Regions from separate parts of the Homo sapiens genome. Here region 2 is linked to region 1. The links are contacts of gene promoters, found by promoter capture Hi-C in blood cells and fetal thymus (Javierre and others, 2016). All regions are on one chromosome and are shown on one strand. The core of a region is centred on a gene start or on the middle of the fragment in contact, and the rest is flanking DNA. Distances in the headings are between cores, read along the strand shown. Region 1 holds the start of ABHD2 (abhydrolase domain containing 2, acylglycerol lipase). Region 2 overlaps AKAP13 (A-kinase anchoring protein 13).

Region 1 (6,992 bases), core at 3,050-5,549:
CCATATTCGAAAGGAAAAGTTTCTCGCACCAGGTGGTGAGATTTTGCTAGTGTAAAAAAAAAAAAAAAAAAAATCCTGCATGTGTTGGAGAGTGTGTATATAGGAACTGTCTGTACTTTCCACTTAATTTTGTTATAAACCTAAAACTATTTATTTATTTAGAGACAGAGTCTCCCTCTGTTGCCCAGGCTGGAGTGCAGTGGTACGATCTTGGTTCACTGCATCCGCCGCCTCCTAGGTTCAAGCGATTCTCCTGCCTCAGCCTCCCAAGTAGCTGGGATTACAGGCACACGTCACCACACCCAGCTAATTTTTGTATTTTTAGTAGAGACGGTGTTTCGCCAATTGACCAGACTGGTCTCAAACTCCTGGCTTCAAGTGATCCGCCCACCTCAGCCTCCCAAAGTGTTGGGATTACAGGCATGAGCCACGGCGCCTGGCCCTAAAACTGCTTTAAAAAATAAAGTCTATCTATATTTTCTAAAAATCCTGAATCCTGTGATCACTACTTCTGAGGGCTAGAACTTAGAAAATGAGTGAGGACCTTAGAGGAAGGTTCTGAAATGGGCTCCTATAATAGCTGTGGCAAACATTTATTAAACATTTTTAGGTATTTGCCAGGTACTGTTTGATGCACTTTGCATCTGTGAACTCATCTGCCACTCAAAGGACCCCATGAGACAAGCACTTCACTGTCCTCTGCGTTTTACAGAAGAAAGTAGGGCACAGAGATGTGCTGTACTCGCCCAAGGTCACAAGGCTAGGAAGGATGGAATCAGGATCCAATCCCCAGCAGTAGAGCTTCCAAATCCCCTTTCTCTGAACCATCCCCCGAGGACACAGAATAACAAAAATGACAAACTGAGTGAATTGCTGATTTTCCTTAAAAGAATAAATAGAACATATTATCTGCTCCAACCACTGCTCCCTGCTGTCTCCCAGAGTACCTTGACTTTCTCAGGTTAGTAAATCCTGCAGAGGCCCCAGTTGAGTTAGAAGCAGTTCTGCTTTAATGAAGTCCTGCAGCTTTGGCCATCCCAGAAGGTGACTGGGGCATACCCTCTCCCTTGTTCTTTTTTATTACAAGGTACTGTCACGGTTTTGAAAATTCACTTTACAGCCACATCCCAACACCTGCTTATCTCAGGCCAAGGCTCACCAAATCCTCAATCCCAACGGGCCACTAAACTTGAAGGCAAAAATAAGTCCATTTTGTCTCCTAAATGGCCTCCCTCAGAAATGATTTATAGAATGAAATAATATGATTAAACAGAATATGGCAAGACTGCAAGCAGAAGGGAGGAAACAGAAACCAGAGACAATTAAGGAAACAGTTCTGTGTGCTGGGAAATGATAATGGATCATTCTTTAAGCCTGCCAGAGCTGCAGAGAAGATGCCCGGATCCTTTTACTCTTCCTCCTCTTCCTGAGCTCAGTCTGTGCCTCTTTTTGAGCCTCTGTGACATAATTGTGTTTTAGAATTCCTGAACTGGAAAGATGTCCTTTTCTGGAACTGGTGGCTGAACCTATGTTCCTGAGATGGGAGAAAAAAGCCATTTACACAATGGCGAGCCCATCTGCAATCTACTCCTAACAGCTGCTTTTTGTGGCTCTGAATCAAGTTGGAGAAATCATCCTGGATCTCAGGAGCCACTTCATGCTTTTCAGGGCCTAACAAGACATCTCACTTTCCCTTAGCAAACACAGGCAGAAGCAAACCTGTATTGGGCTGGGCCTATTTCCGTAACATGCATGCAGCCATGTGTATGGCTACCAAGCAGCACTGTTTAAAGACAAGAACCAGAAAACTGTGGATCAGAACCAAATGTGTACATAGATATGTGTACACACCCCTCCAAAACTAGTGACAAATCTTTTTTGTTTTTTTTTTTCTGAGACAGAGTCTCACTCTGTCATCCAAGCTGGAATGCAGTGGTGCAATCTCACTGCAGCCTCTGCTTCCTGGGTTCAAACGATTATCCTGCCTCAGCCTCCTGAGTAGCTGGGATTACAGGTGTGTGCCACCATGCCCAGCTAATTTTGTATTTTTAGTAGAGATGGGGTTTCACCATGATGGCCAGGCTGGTCTGGAACTGCTGACCTCAGGTGATCCTCCTGCCTTGGCCTCCCAAAGTGCTGGGATTACAGGCTTGAGCCACTGTGCCCAGCCTATTTTTTAAATTATTATTAATTTTTAATTGACAAAATTTGTATATATTTATGATGTACAACATGCTTTACTTATTTATGTTTATCATGTTATTATGTTTATTTGTCAAACAAGGTCTCACTCTGTGGCCCAGGCTGGAGTGCAGTGGTGCGATCACAGCTCACTGCAGCCTCAACTTCCTGGGCTCAAACAACCCTCCTGCCTCAGCCTCCCCACTAGCTGGGACTACAGGCATGCACCACCACATCAGGCTAAATTTTAAATTTTTTGTAGAGACGGGGTCTCACTATGTTGCCCAGGTTGGTCTCAGACTCCTGGGCTCCGCCTCAGCTTCCCAAAATGTTGGATTACAGGCGTGAGCCACTGTACCGGTCCATGTTTTGATACATGTATACATTGTGGGATAGCTACACCAAGCTAGTTAACATATGCATTACCTTATATACTTATCTAGTGATAATCTAAAGCTCTTTTTTGGAAGTCCAAACTGTTTTAACTCAGAGTCAGGACGATGGGGTTCATCACTAAGAGACTTTGCTACTGAAGCCTGGGTTTTTCTTTTCCAAGATGAAAGAGAATACAGAGGAATATATAAACACTGAGATGAAACCTTTTTTTTTCAAGGTAACATGACAACTGAATGAAAAATAGAGCAATGGCAAAGGATTCTTTCTTCTCCTTCACTCTGATGTACCATGGCTGTGAGTTCTTTCAAAGACAGACACAAAGGGTCTGGGGCTACATTCAGGCCTGAGAAGCTATTTCTGTCCACACTCTGTGATGTCTACACCTTCAGAATGGGGAATGGGTTTCAGGGGTCTCTGACAGATAGAGCTCATGCAATGATTTCTGGTCCGGTGCTGATCAGCCTTCAAAGGATGTTATTTGGTTACGCTCCATAAAACTTGAGCCAGCCCACTGTTCCTTGTCACAACCTGAAATATGTTGGGAAAAATTTACATGGTAACAAATGCCACTTCCCTTCTCTGACTAAATCGCTCCTCTCATTTCATCCCCTGCTCCCTCTCTCCGAGCCCTATGGGGCCTTGGTAGGGTGGCCTTGTCTGCCCTACAGGGGTTGCATTTCAAGTCGCTCAAGTGTTCTATTCTTGGTACACGACATGCCATTGCAAAAGCAGTTTCAGGCTCATAGAATTTTAGAAATGGGCCTAGTTTCCCAGCCGGATGAGGTGAGTGGGTGATGGGGGAAGAATCAGCCTTGATTGAATGCCTGTTGAGTGCCAGCCACTGTTGGCATTTATCAGAGTTTATTTAATCTTCTCATCAACTACTATTGTTACCCTCAGTTGCCAAGTGAAGGGAGCATGCGGGAAGGTTAAGTGACTTGCCCAAGCCCACACAACCGGTAGGAGCCCCAATTCCAGGCCCTAGTTCCAAGGCTACATTCTTCCAGGCGGCCTCCAACTGGGTTGGTTAAGGGTTGAAAGGACAGTGGGACAATAACTGAGGCCCGTATTGCCCAGAGCGTCCCCATCCCCCGTCCGGAGCTGGAAGAGGCCATAGACCGCTGCCTCCACATCTTTTCCTCTCCTTCGGGTTCGGTGACTCACGACCCTTCTTCCTCTCTCCCGGGATATGACCTCAAATTTCACCCCTGCGAAATTTGAGTACACGTGAGTCAGTCAGTCGGCCTGGACCCATAAGAGCCCCAGCTGAGCTACCAGCAGCTGAGCTACCAGCCGACCTCATTCCTCTGAGCCCAGTCGACAGCTGACCTTACCCAGCCCTCTAAAGCAGTTTGCGGTCACAATTACCCGTCTCTTCACCCCGCCCCCATCGACATCAAACACGACCCACCTTCTAGCCCTCCTCCCCTTTCCCCGCCCACTCCGGGCTGGCCTTATCCAGTAGCGTCTGGGTCCCTGGACTAAAGCCGTCAAATGTAACCAATTGCTGAGGAGCTCTCCCCTAAGAATCCCGCCTCCACTCTGAGGAACAGCTTCGCTGATCAATGGATCCCCTCCTAGACGCAATGAGCGCGCGGGGCAAGTGGAGAAGCGGCTGAACTGCCCAATGAACAAGCGGTTTCCGTGGTTAGGGGCGTGGCAGAAGCGGTCGTCAGGGGCGTGGCGGCAGTTACTTGGGCGGGGCCGGTAGCGGCGGGAGCTGCACTGGCCAGGGGTTCCGGCTGTATATCCATGAGCGCCGCTGGCAGCCGGGGAGCTGCAGGAACCAGACTGGGGGCGAGCTGAGCACCTGTAGTCAATCACACGCAGGTAAAGCCACGGCCGAGCGAGCTCCGCGGAGCGGGGATCGCACCCCGGACCCGTCGAACCGAATCTCCGAGCCCCGAGGTCCCCGGCGTAGCTCGGCCCATCACGCCGCAGCCTGAGGGGATCCTGGGGGGCCTGTCATCTGGCGCCGTGGGGGTCCCAGGGGCTGGCTTGCCCAGTGGTGGGGACAGCCCAGATCGCGGCGGGGGATACGCCTTCCTGAGGCCCTTTGTCCCCTTCTGCCCGAGGAACCGAGGTTGGGGACAACCCCGACCGCGGCCTTTCCCCCATTGGTGCTCACTCCTGGGTCTTCAGGGGCCTGGGGAGGGGTCTGCCGGTTCAGGCTCGGCGAAGAAGGTCCGGGATCCGCACCTGGAAGGAGAGGGCCGAGGGGCCTGATTACAGCCCGAGATACCCGAGAGGCCTCTGTGTTTCGGGGCTCCAGGGGCTCACGCAGGACCAGTGGGTTTAAGTTCTAGAAAGGCAGCTTTTGACCCACTTGGAAGCACATTTACCGAGTTCGGCCCCGCGACCGGCACTGTTCTAGGCCCTTCGTGAGCTTTTCCCACAGCTAGAGCTGTCCAGCAGCGCAGGAGGCTGCCTGCCAGGCCGGGCAGCTAGCGCCTCGACCTTGGCGATGTCCAAGCAGTGGCCTGATGACAGCCACCTGTGTCGGATGCTTAGGACTCCCAAGGGAGGACTGCATGACCCATCTGTAAGGGCCTTCTCTACCCACAAATGCACTCTAAGTGGCCTTTGATGCCTAGCTTGAGAAGAGTACTTCTGGGGGTCCATTAGGTTCCAAGTGGCTGTTGAATTCACCCATAATGAATTTTGAGGTTTCAGCTCTCAAGAGTGGGTGTTAGCAAAGAGACTGGATTATACAAAAAGATAGAGGTTTATTTAGCCACTGTGAAACTCCTTGTATTTGAACTACCATGGACCGCTCTCTTAATCTTCCCAATCTCTCTTTTTTGGTTGCTGGACCTCCAGTTTGTCAGTTTCACCTGCATTCCAGTAACCAAATCCAAAGGCATGTTCCAAGAACAGGCTCCACAGAGGGACCTGGAGAGACTGCAGGTTTGGCAGAGTCAACAAGATCTGTGCCCAGAGCTTTTCGAAGGCCGTTTCCTTACAGCCACATTAAGCAGAGTCCAAAAGAGAAATCCTTCACTACCCTCTGTCATTTGCCGGAATAGAGAGAACATAATAATCTAAAGGTCAGGAGGCAGAGAAAGAATCTTAACACACCTTGCTGTGTGTTTTAGGATGAATTAATCTTTGAACATCTAGTCAGAAAGCAGTCCATATACAGCTGGTAGTCAGCACGGACTGTGACATTTTAGAGCTGAAGGCACCTTAGATAGAGCTCATCTCTATCTAAGTCTAATTAGGTGGACTCTCATTCAGTCTCCTCAATGCACAGGTGAGGAAACTGAGGCCTGGGGTGGTCACAGGGCTGGTTGGTCATCACAGGCCCATGACTAAGGGTTGATCTCTTGACTGTATTTAGATCTAGCCAGTGCATGACTTATTTCACTCCAAGCTTAGTTTGCCCATTCTCAGTGTTTTAAGTTCTAGGGGAGTCCAGAGAGGTTAGGAGGACAGATTTTGGTGCCTGAGTGCCTGGATTTGAATCCCAGCCCTGCCTCTTACTGGCTGTACAACCTTGGGCAAGCTACTTAACTTCTCTGTGCCTCTGTTTCCTCACCTCTAAAACAGAAATAATAATGATACTTATGTTAGAAGATTGTTTTGAGAAGTGCATGGAGTTACTACATCTGAAGCATTTAGAACAGTACCTGGCACAGGGTAAGCACAATAGATTTGCTAGATATGATATTCTGTTGCCTTTTTGTACATTTTTCTTCATATCCACCACCCAATACTCTATCAAGAGCTAATTTTTCCCCCAGTCCCCTTCCCCCCACCCCCAAATTCATTTAACATATTCCAGATTTCATTTTAACACAGACAGCTGCAAGGGGTTTCCAAGTCACGTTGCATTTTATACCTTACTTATTTTTGTGATTCAGGTAATTTAGTTTCTATGTTAGTTCCCCCTTGCAGTTACATTCTTCTTAGGCTCTGAACCCTTTAAAATTATCGTTAAAAGCAGGCAGTGAGGGGTGGGAATCCCTCGAAATGGTAAAGTCCTGGATGATACCCGTGTCCATGGTGTCCTTCCAAATATGTATTCCCTCTCTTCAGCCCTCCTCCCAAGCGATGAGTGTGATGCAGCTTGATTCTAAATGGATGAACATTTTTAGATTAAGATTTTATGAGCCACTGTATTAAGTGCTTTTCGGAAGTTCAGGGATCATGTGTCAACTGCATTTAAGGAAGTTACTTAGTCATTCGAATAGGGGGAGCACCAGCAGCGCCTGCCTGGCCTGGCAGAAGCAAAAGTGTGTGACTGATCCGTGCTGGCAATCTAGCTGGTTCACTGGTTTATCTGTGTTTTTCCTGTTCTTTTCCAAAGCTTGAAATAAACCAGATGGCAAGTACAAGGGAATGGTCTTTTTCCTCTCATTTTAGTCAGGGTCGTTCACTTTTTTCCCTTTTTACTCTCACCTTCATTTCCTTTA
Region 2 (7,272 bases), core at 3,001-5,500, 3.4 Mb before region 1:
ATGTCATGCACCTCTGACCTCACGTTTTTAGTTCATCACAGCTGCTTCATTGTTCTCATTAACTTTGAAAGTAAATATTAAAATTGCAACTCAAAATAAATCTGTACTGTTTTACATATCTGAACACAGTATATTAATATTTCATATAAGACTTTTTAGAGTTTTTCTAGTATTTTGGAAAACCAGTGAAATAGTGGATTGGCTACTGGTTCTGTGCTAATAGTGTTTATAAGTGGAATGGGACTTTTTTTAATATGAAGTCACCCAAGGAATTTGCTTTTTCTGGAGGCACGTTATTTCATGAAGTCCAGTGTGTTATCACTAGACTAAAGTCTTTTCTGTTTGGGAAGTCTGTCGGTGGGGACAGGGGTCATAATAACCTTTGCTAGTTGTTCTTTGATTTTTGGTAATGGCTTGATCTAATCAAATATCAGAGATTATCTTAGTTCTACCTGCTCAGCAAAAACCAGGAAAAAGAGTTAACATATTTGAGGGGTTTTTTTTGTTTTTTGTTTGTTTGAGACGGCGTCTCACTCTGTCACCTAGGCTGGAGTACAGTGGCGCAATCTCGGCTCACTGCAACCTCCTCCTCCCAGGTTCAAGCGATTCTTCTGCCTCAGTCTCCCAAGTAGCTGGGACTACAGGAACACGCCACCACACCTGGCTAATTTTTTTTTGTATTTTTATTAGAGTTGGGGTTTCACCATATTGGCCAGGCTGGTCTTGAACTCCTGACTCAGGTGATCCACCCTCCTCAGGCTCCCAAAGTGTTGGGATTACAGGCGTGAGCCACCATGCCTGGCTATATTTGAGGTTTAAACTGAAAAGTATCAGACAGCAAAAAGGAATAGTTTAAGTTGGGCTTGACTGTTACCCTAATATGCACTAAGTTTCAAAAATACATTCTTTAATTTGCATACCACCCTACTCCAGAAGTAATGTAGAAATAGTCTCAACATCTGGTGATAGCATTAAGGTTTATGTAAGACAGTCTGCAGCCTGCCTCTTATAAAAAGAAGGGGGTAGGCCAGGCACGGTGGCTCACGCCTGTAATCCCAGCACTTTAGGAGGGCAAGGCAGGTGGATCACGAGATCAGGCGTTCAAGACCAGCCTGACCAACATGGTGAAACCCCGTCTCTACTAAAAATACAAAAAATTAGCTGGGCATGATGGTGGGCGCTTGTAATCCCCAGCTACTTGGGAGGCTGAGGCAGGAGAACTGCTCGAACCCGGGAGGCGGAGGTTACAGTCAGCCAAAGATCGCGCCATTGCACTTCAGCCTGGGTGACAGAGCAAGACTCACACACACACACACACACACACACACACACAAAAGGAGTGAAAAGGATTGAAAGCAACAAAATAGTATGTAGTCATCTTCTCAAAGGAACCAAAGTAATGGGCTGATTATCTTCAGCTTCCTGAAGAAGCTGAATGTTTGTATGTAGGAAGTCCCATGTGTTATCTTGGCAGGAAGTAGAAAATATGAGTAATTTGGGGACGCAGAATCTTTCGTCACTTCCCTCCATCGCGTCTCATGTCCAGGATCTTCCCAGGAGTCGTAGGAAATGTAGCATCCATGCAGTTAGTCGTTTACCTCCTAGGAAACCTTTGTGCTCTTAGGAGACAGTGGCTTCCCATTGTGGTTAAGTGTAACCCTGTTTGGCTGACCCCTGGATAGAGCTTCATACCCTCAGCACTGCATAGTCACCTTTGACTTGTGGTTAGAAAGATCAGCCATATAGTCCATCATGATGATATGTTATGATGGTTTATACAAGAAACTGGGACTTTTTATCTCAGCCAAAACGCTACTCTTGCTTTAGGATTAGGTGACTTTAACAGGGTTAATAGAGGAATGTCTTTTCAACTCTTATTTCTCTATTATGTAAAGCTGTCCTTGAATAGTCAGCTGTTCTTTCCAGCTGCCACAAATAATTTGTTCTTTGAAAAGCTTAGTGACTTAGTGGGGTCTTTCAGAATAAGGAATTTGTTATGTTCAGGTTTTGGGGTCTTGCCAGTGGTTCTGTTTTGCTTGCTTTAAACAGATGTAAAATGATACTGAGATTATTGCTGATTTATTTTCTGTTGTGCTAGCAGCATTTCAGTACTTTTGTGGTAGGTTGTTTCTTTTACATAAAAAATAAACAAGTAAACCAGCTGCAATCTAAGTAGGAAACATAAGAATTTAGAATGTGTGTGATGGTTAGATTTTACTTCTGATTTCATCAGAAAAGTTGCCCTCTAGACAGTTTTCTGGCATTTATAGTTCATTGCTTATATGAGAGAATAAAATACATATAGTTGATTAAAGGAAGGAAGTTTATTACTTAGGGAAAAGGAAGGTAAAAAAAGACCCTAAGCAATAAAGGCAATTCTTTTTTAAGCAGAATACTTTCATTTTATTTCATTTTTGTTTACCAGTGTTGTTACGAAAACTGCTGCTGGGGCTACTTCAGCTGAGATGATTTGGCTCTTTTTTGTGGCTTTCTTCTTGTTCTGTACATCAGCACTGTGGTTATTACACCAGCTACCAAGAACATCTCACATGCCTTTTGCATATAAGCACTCTTAGTCCAGATAGGGCGATGTCTCAAATCCCCCAAAGATTTTATTTATTGGCCAGGTGCCGTGGCTCACGCCTGTGATCCCAGCACTTTGGAAGGCTGAGGCGGGTGGATCACCTGAGGTTAGGAGTTTGAGACCAGCCTGGCCAACATGGCGAAATACCATCTCCACTAAAAATACAAAAAATTAGTCAGGCGTAGTGGCATGGACCGGTAATCCCAGCTACTCAGGAGGCTGAGACAGCAGAATCACCTGAACCCAGGAGGCAGAGGTTGCAGTGAGCCAAGATCGTACCACTGCACTCCAGCTTGGGTGACAGAGCAAGACTCCATCTCAAAAAAAAAAAATATATATATATATATATACACACACATATATTTAATAATTTTTTTTTGAGAGACAGGGTCTCTGTTAAAGATTTTAAACAAGAAGTTTAAAGTTGCAGAAAGAATTTTGTAGCATGCATTTCTAAATTTGCTCATATTTAACTGTTTTTTGTTTTATTTTCATTTTCTTGGTTAGAGTTGAAATGATAGGAGAAAGTTGTGCATTTCTATCCTTAAAGGTAATTCCTCAACTTGTGTCCTGGAGAAGAATCAGGTCATTTTTCCCAGTTAGATTTTGCTGCTCACATCTGTAGGCAGAACAGTCAGAAGTCTTCAGCCTATTCCCAAGTGATGATCAATGAACTGAAGTACTGGAAGACCTTTTTTGTCAGAGCCTTGGCTGCATATGACTCAGCTCCCAAAGGTGGCTCGTTTCTGTGTAGGCAGTCCTTTGATATTCTGTCATTTCATTTCAGTTTGGCATGGCCACTCCTCTTATCATTGTATAAAGTTGATTTTCTTAAGTTAGCCTCGCTAATGGTTTGTTTTATTTTTCTTCCGAAAGATAAAAAACACATAGTATATAACCATTCGCCAAAGATCTGTGGTGGTTGGTGGCATGGGTTAAAAAAAAGATACAGCAATAGATAGATGATAGTTTCCAGTCATGTGGGTTTAACTTCATTTTCTTTGGTTTGATGCCTCCTTGTAGCAAAGAAAGAAGTTGAAGGCTGGACTGTTTGTTTTAGGTACAGAGGAATCCGATTAGGGATCAGCTCTGTTCCCATAAACCACTGTGCTGAGACCTTTTTGAAGAATTTTAAAAAATGAAAGCATATTGCCTACTGCTATTAGGAAATCTATCAAATAAATAAATAAAAGGCCAGATAATTATTTTCTGATCTTCATAACAACATGGTATGGTTTGTGGCAGAGAGCTTAAAAATGTATTAGATTTGTCTTCAATTCTTGTGTTCTTGGTAATTTTCTGTTTTCCCAAACAGAGAGTAAGATTTTAGTCTCATGACTTTGGCTGATGTCAGTGGGGCTGAAGTTTCTAAATCACCCACGCACAGCTCTAAAACTGTCACTGTGAATTGAGTCCAGGACAACTTGGAAACAAGTTGAGTGTTTTTCAAGTAGGTACTTCAGCATGTTAAGGAGATGTCCATGCAAACTATCACTAAGAGAAAACTCATGACCATAATATAGAGCGTGTTAAACTTCCAGCTGGGTTGTGGGTTTGGGGACATGTTTCAATTAATTAAAAGTGAATTTATGTGAAAAGTTCTTTACTAGAAGCACATTTTAAATGATTTTTTTCTGCTTCTATGTTCATCTCAGACACTCAAACACTGGCCTGAGAGTTTGAATATTGCTGAAACCTTTTTACGTGATAGTGCCACTCCCTTAAAAATCATCATTGCTTAAATCTCTGTAGGGTGTTGGAACTGGTTGGGAAGAAAGGAACAGAAAGAACAGAACTTGGAAACAAATTCTGCCCATAGTGTTCTTGGTCACTTTTGCAGATCAGAATTAGTAGCTGGTTCTCCAGCAAATCTGCCACCTCCTGTGTTGCCCTTAGGTGCCTAAAATATTATAGATTTTCAATAAAACAAAAGAAAAAAAATATACTTTTTTAACTGGATTATAAGACAATAAAATCTTATCTTTAAGTTATCACAAGATGCGATAAATGGATTATGCAAAAGGATATGGAAATGTTTATAAGCAAATCCAAGGAACTTTGAACGACATTAGAGTGTGATGATTTTTTAAAAATTAAAAATTTTTTTTAATTTTGAAAAATGTTAATACAAAGTATTATACATAGGTAATTTATCACATATGTGTCCATGATTCAGAATGAACACATAGTAACATTCTGTCAGACGGCTTCAGATTGTTTCACTTTTTAAGAAACCATTATGGTTAAGTTCAGATTCCCCTTTGTTTCCCTGCCCCATGCATCTTCCTTCCTCCCCAAGGACAAGGACTGTCATGAATTCAGTGCATTCGTAGTCTGTGTTTTATAATTTATTTTCATACATAAACAACATATAATTTGTTTTTGTTTTTAACCTACATAAATACTACCATACAGTACCTCTTTTTGTAATTTGCTTTATTCTCTTCAGCATTATATATTGAGGATTCAGCACGCTGAAAAACATAGATCTACTAATCATTGACTTTGCCTTTTCATAGTCTTTTTATACTTTTTCTGTAGAAGGGAAAGAGAAATGGACTTAAAGATGATGTATTTGAAAGACTTTAGCTGAGTGGGGATTTGTGAAGAGAAAGGGTTTGAGTGGGGTGGGCTTTCAAGTCTGTGCATGGGAAGGATATGATGGATCAACTAATGGGAGAGGAAGAAACCAGAAAGGAGCATGCCAGCTGCAAGTCCTGGGCATCTCTGTGGCAGAGGAGGGGAGGTGCACCATACACCCTGAGTAAGAATAGTGCTCGTGAGGATGGGCAGAAACATGTTTTGGCTTACTAGAAAATAAATAAAGCCGTTTGCCTCGACCACTTTGTTATGCTTCTTGCTGTGGGTCCAGCAGCCTGAAACTCACTTACCCATCTGATAGAATCACAGCAGAGGGAACCTGGGGGAAAATGTGATTCCTCCTTTTTAATTTTATAGATGAGGAAACGGAGGCCTGTCAAGAAGGGACTAGGGTCATACTAGTACATACATACATGCAGAGCCAGGACCTACGTCAAATTTAGTTTGACAGCTGTTTGTCCTTTTGTGTTACTAAATTGATGTTTGACATACTGTAATCAAGGCTGTGTCAGCGCATTCATCTAATTTTAGTTTAAATAGGCATAGTAGGGCCGAGAGAGGAGCATTTGAATAGGATGCATGAGCTAGGCACTATGCTGGAGAGTCTTAATTTGAAGATTCAGCAGTGGGTGAATGGTCCCTGCCCCAGAGAGGGGATAGAGAAAAACCTAAGAGAGTCTCAATACACTGTGCCAGTGGTATTAAGGAGGAGACCTGTGAACCAAGTGGGTGTTAAAGGAAGTGTTACAAAAGGCATGGAATAGGCCTTTGAGGTCTGGGATTCTAGCAGTCTCCTTTCTGGTTTCCTTCCCTCCCCATCATCACTCCAGTCCCCCACAAATCCATGTGTCTGGGCTAAAAGAGATGTTGGCCCAAAAGAGATGTTGGCCCTTAACTGGTGAGTTGATGTAGACAGGACCTGTGATGCTTCCTGAATCAGTCTGTGAGGCATTGCCTAGTGAATGGTATCTGTGGTTGATTTCCTGAGTGAGCCCTTCCCATGAGAGTGTCTCCTCGAGTGTCCCCACAGGCCGATCTTTCATTTGTTTCTGCTTTACCTCTGGCTTCCTGGAACAGTTCTGTTATGTGACTTTATAGCAGCGCTGAGAGCTGATGGTAAGCCTTCTGAGACACAGAGGCTTGGGTTTTTACGTCAGTGGCCCTTGTAGGCCAAGGGAGTGAAAAGTAAAGGAATTGAGATAAAATGCTGTCCTTGCCAAATTGTGGTTTCTGCTTTATCTTTCAAGAAGTCTCCATTTTCTCTTAAGTCACAGTTCCCAGAGGTGCATGTGGGGGTTCCAGTGACCTTTCATGTGTGGTTCCTGTCTCAGAGAATGGGGTGCAAAAAGCCCAGCGTAGTTAAGCTTTTCAGATTTTATATTCTGTGCTTTATTACAGTCATACAAATTTTGTAACCCCTGTTAGGGGCTTTATTAATGTATTTATTTGTAATTTAGACTTACACATTGATGGCAGACACTTTCACTTTTAGTTTTGGTAGCCTCTCAGCTTCCTGTCTGAAAAGTTCCAGACTTACTAGTTTTTGTTGATTAGAAATCACATCTGTTGCTTCCTAAGGGCCAGGAAACTCACCCTTCCCATCAGATCACTTGAGTCGTTGTTCCTCTCATTAAGCTGTAATCTGTCTCCTGGTCTCCAAATAAAGACACAAACACCGAAAAAAAAAAAATCACATCTGCTCGTGTTTTTCCTCCTCCAAATAACATCACAGACCTGCTTCCTAGAAGAGGACTGCAGTGTGTAATTTCAGTCACATTCTCACATGTGAGTGACTTCACTTTGAAATTCAGAGGCCACTTGTGGCAGCAGTGGAAACTCAGAATCTGGGATCTGTTTGCTTTGTCCATGTGACCTTGGGTTTGCTTTCTTTTCAGATTGCAGTGCTTTTGTCCACAAAGGCTGCCGAGAAAGTCTAGCCTCCTGTGCAAAGGTCAAAATGAAGGTAAGACTTTCTGGCTAAAACAAGGCTTAAAATAAAAGGGTTTAAACCAGCAAAATCCTCGGGAGTTGGGAGAGTTGAGGTTGTGGTGGATTTTGTTTATTTTAATCATTTGGTACCAACTTTG

Evidence for each region. Contacts are between HindIII fragments. The CHiCAGO score rates a contact against its expected background, and 5 or more counts as called.
Region 2: a contact is called between a fragment that was not itself captured here and the fragment with the promoter of ABHD2 in region 1, in 1 of 17 cell types (M0 macrophages). The highest score is 5.9, in M0 macrophages.

The regions. Positions count from the first base shown.
Region 1 is chr15:89,084,157-89,091,148 of GRCh38, forward strand. ABHD2 (abhydrolase domain containing 2, acylglycerol lipase) reads left to right here and starts at 4,300. Exons shown (of 11, transcript NM_152924.5): 1 at 4,300-4,407. It overlaps LOC124903573, which reads right to left. Exons shown (of 7, transcript XM_047433432.1): 4 at 6,979-6,992; 5 at 4,679-4,776; 6 at 3,912-4,530; 7 at 3,405-3,785. The coding sequence ends at 3,571. It overlaps CARMAL (coronary artery disease region linked MFGE8 regulatory lncRNA), which reads left to right. Exons shown (of 4, transcript NR_183882.1): 4 at 1-73. RefSeq lists enhancers at 3,063-3,708, 4,319-4,498, 4,440-4,959. The HindIII fragment of the contact is 11,698 bases long and covers 1-5,948 here.
Region 2 is chr15:85,700,939-85,708,210 of GRCh38, forward strand. It overlaps AKAP13 (A-kinase anchoring protein 13), which reads left to right. Exons shown (of 37, transcript NM_007200.5): 18 at 7,081-7,148. Among named protein-coding and RNA genes, the nearest start is that of LINC02883, 54 kb to the right of the region's middle. RefSeq lists a silencer at 3,914-4,043 and an enhancer at 6,410-6,719. The HindIII fragment of the contact is 4,594 bases long and covers 1,954-6,547 here.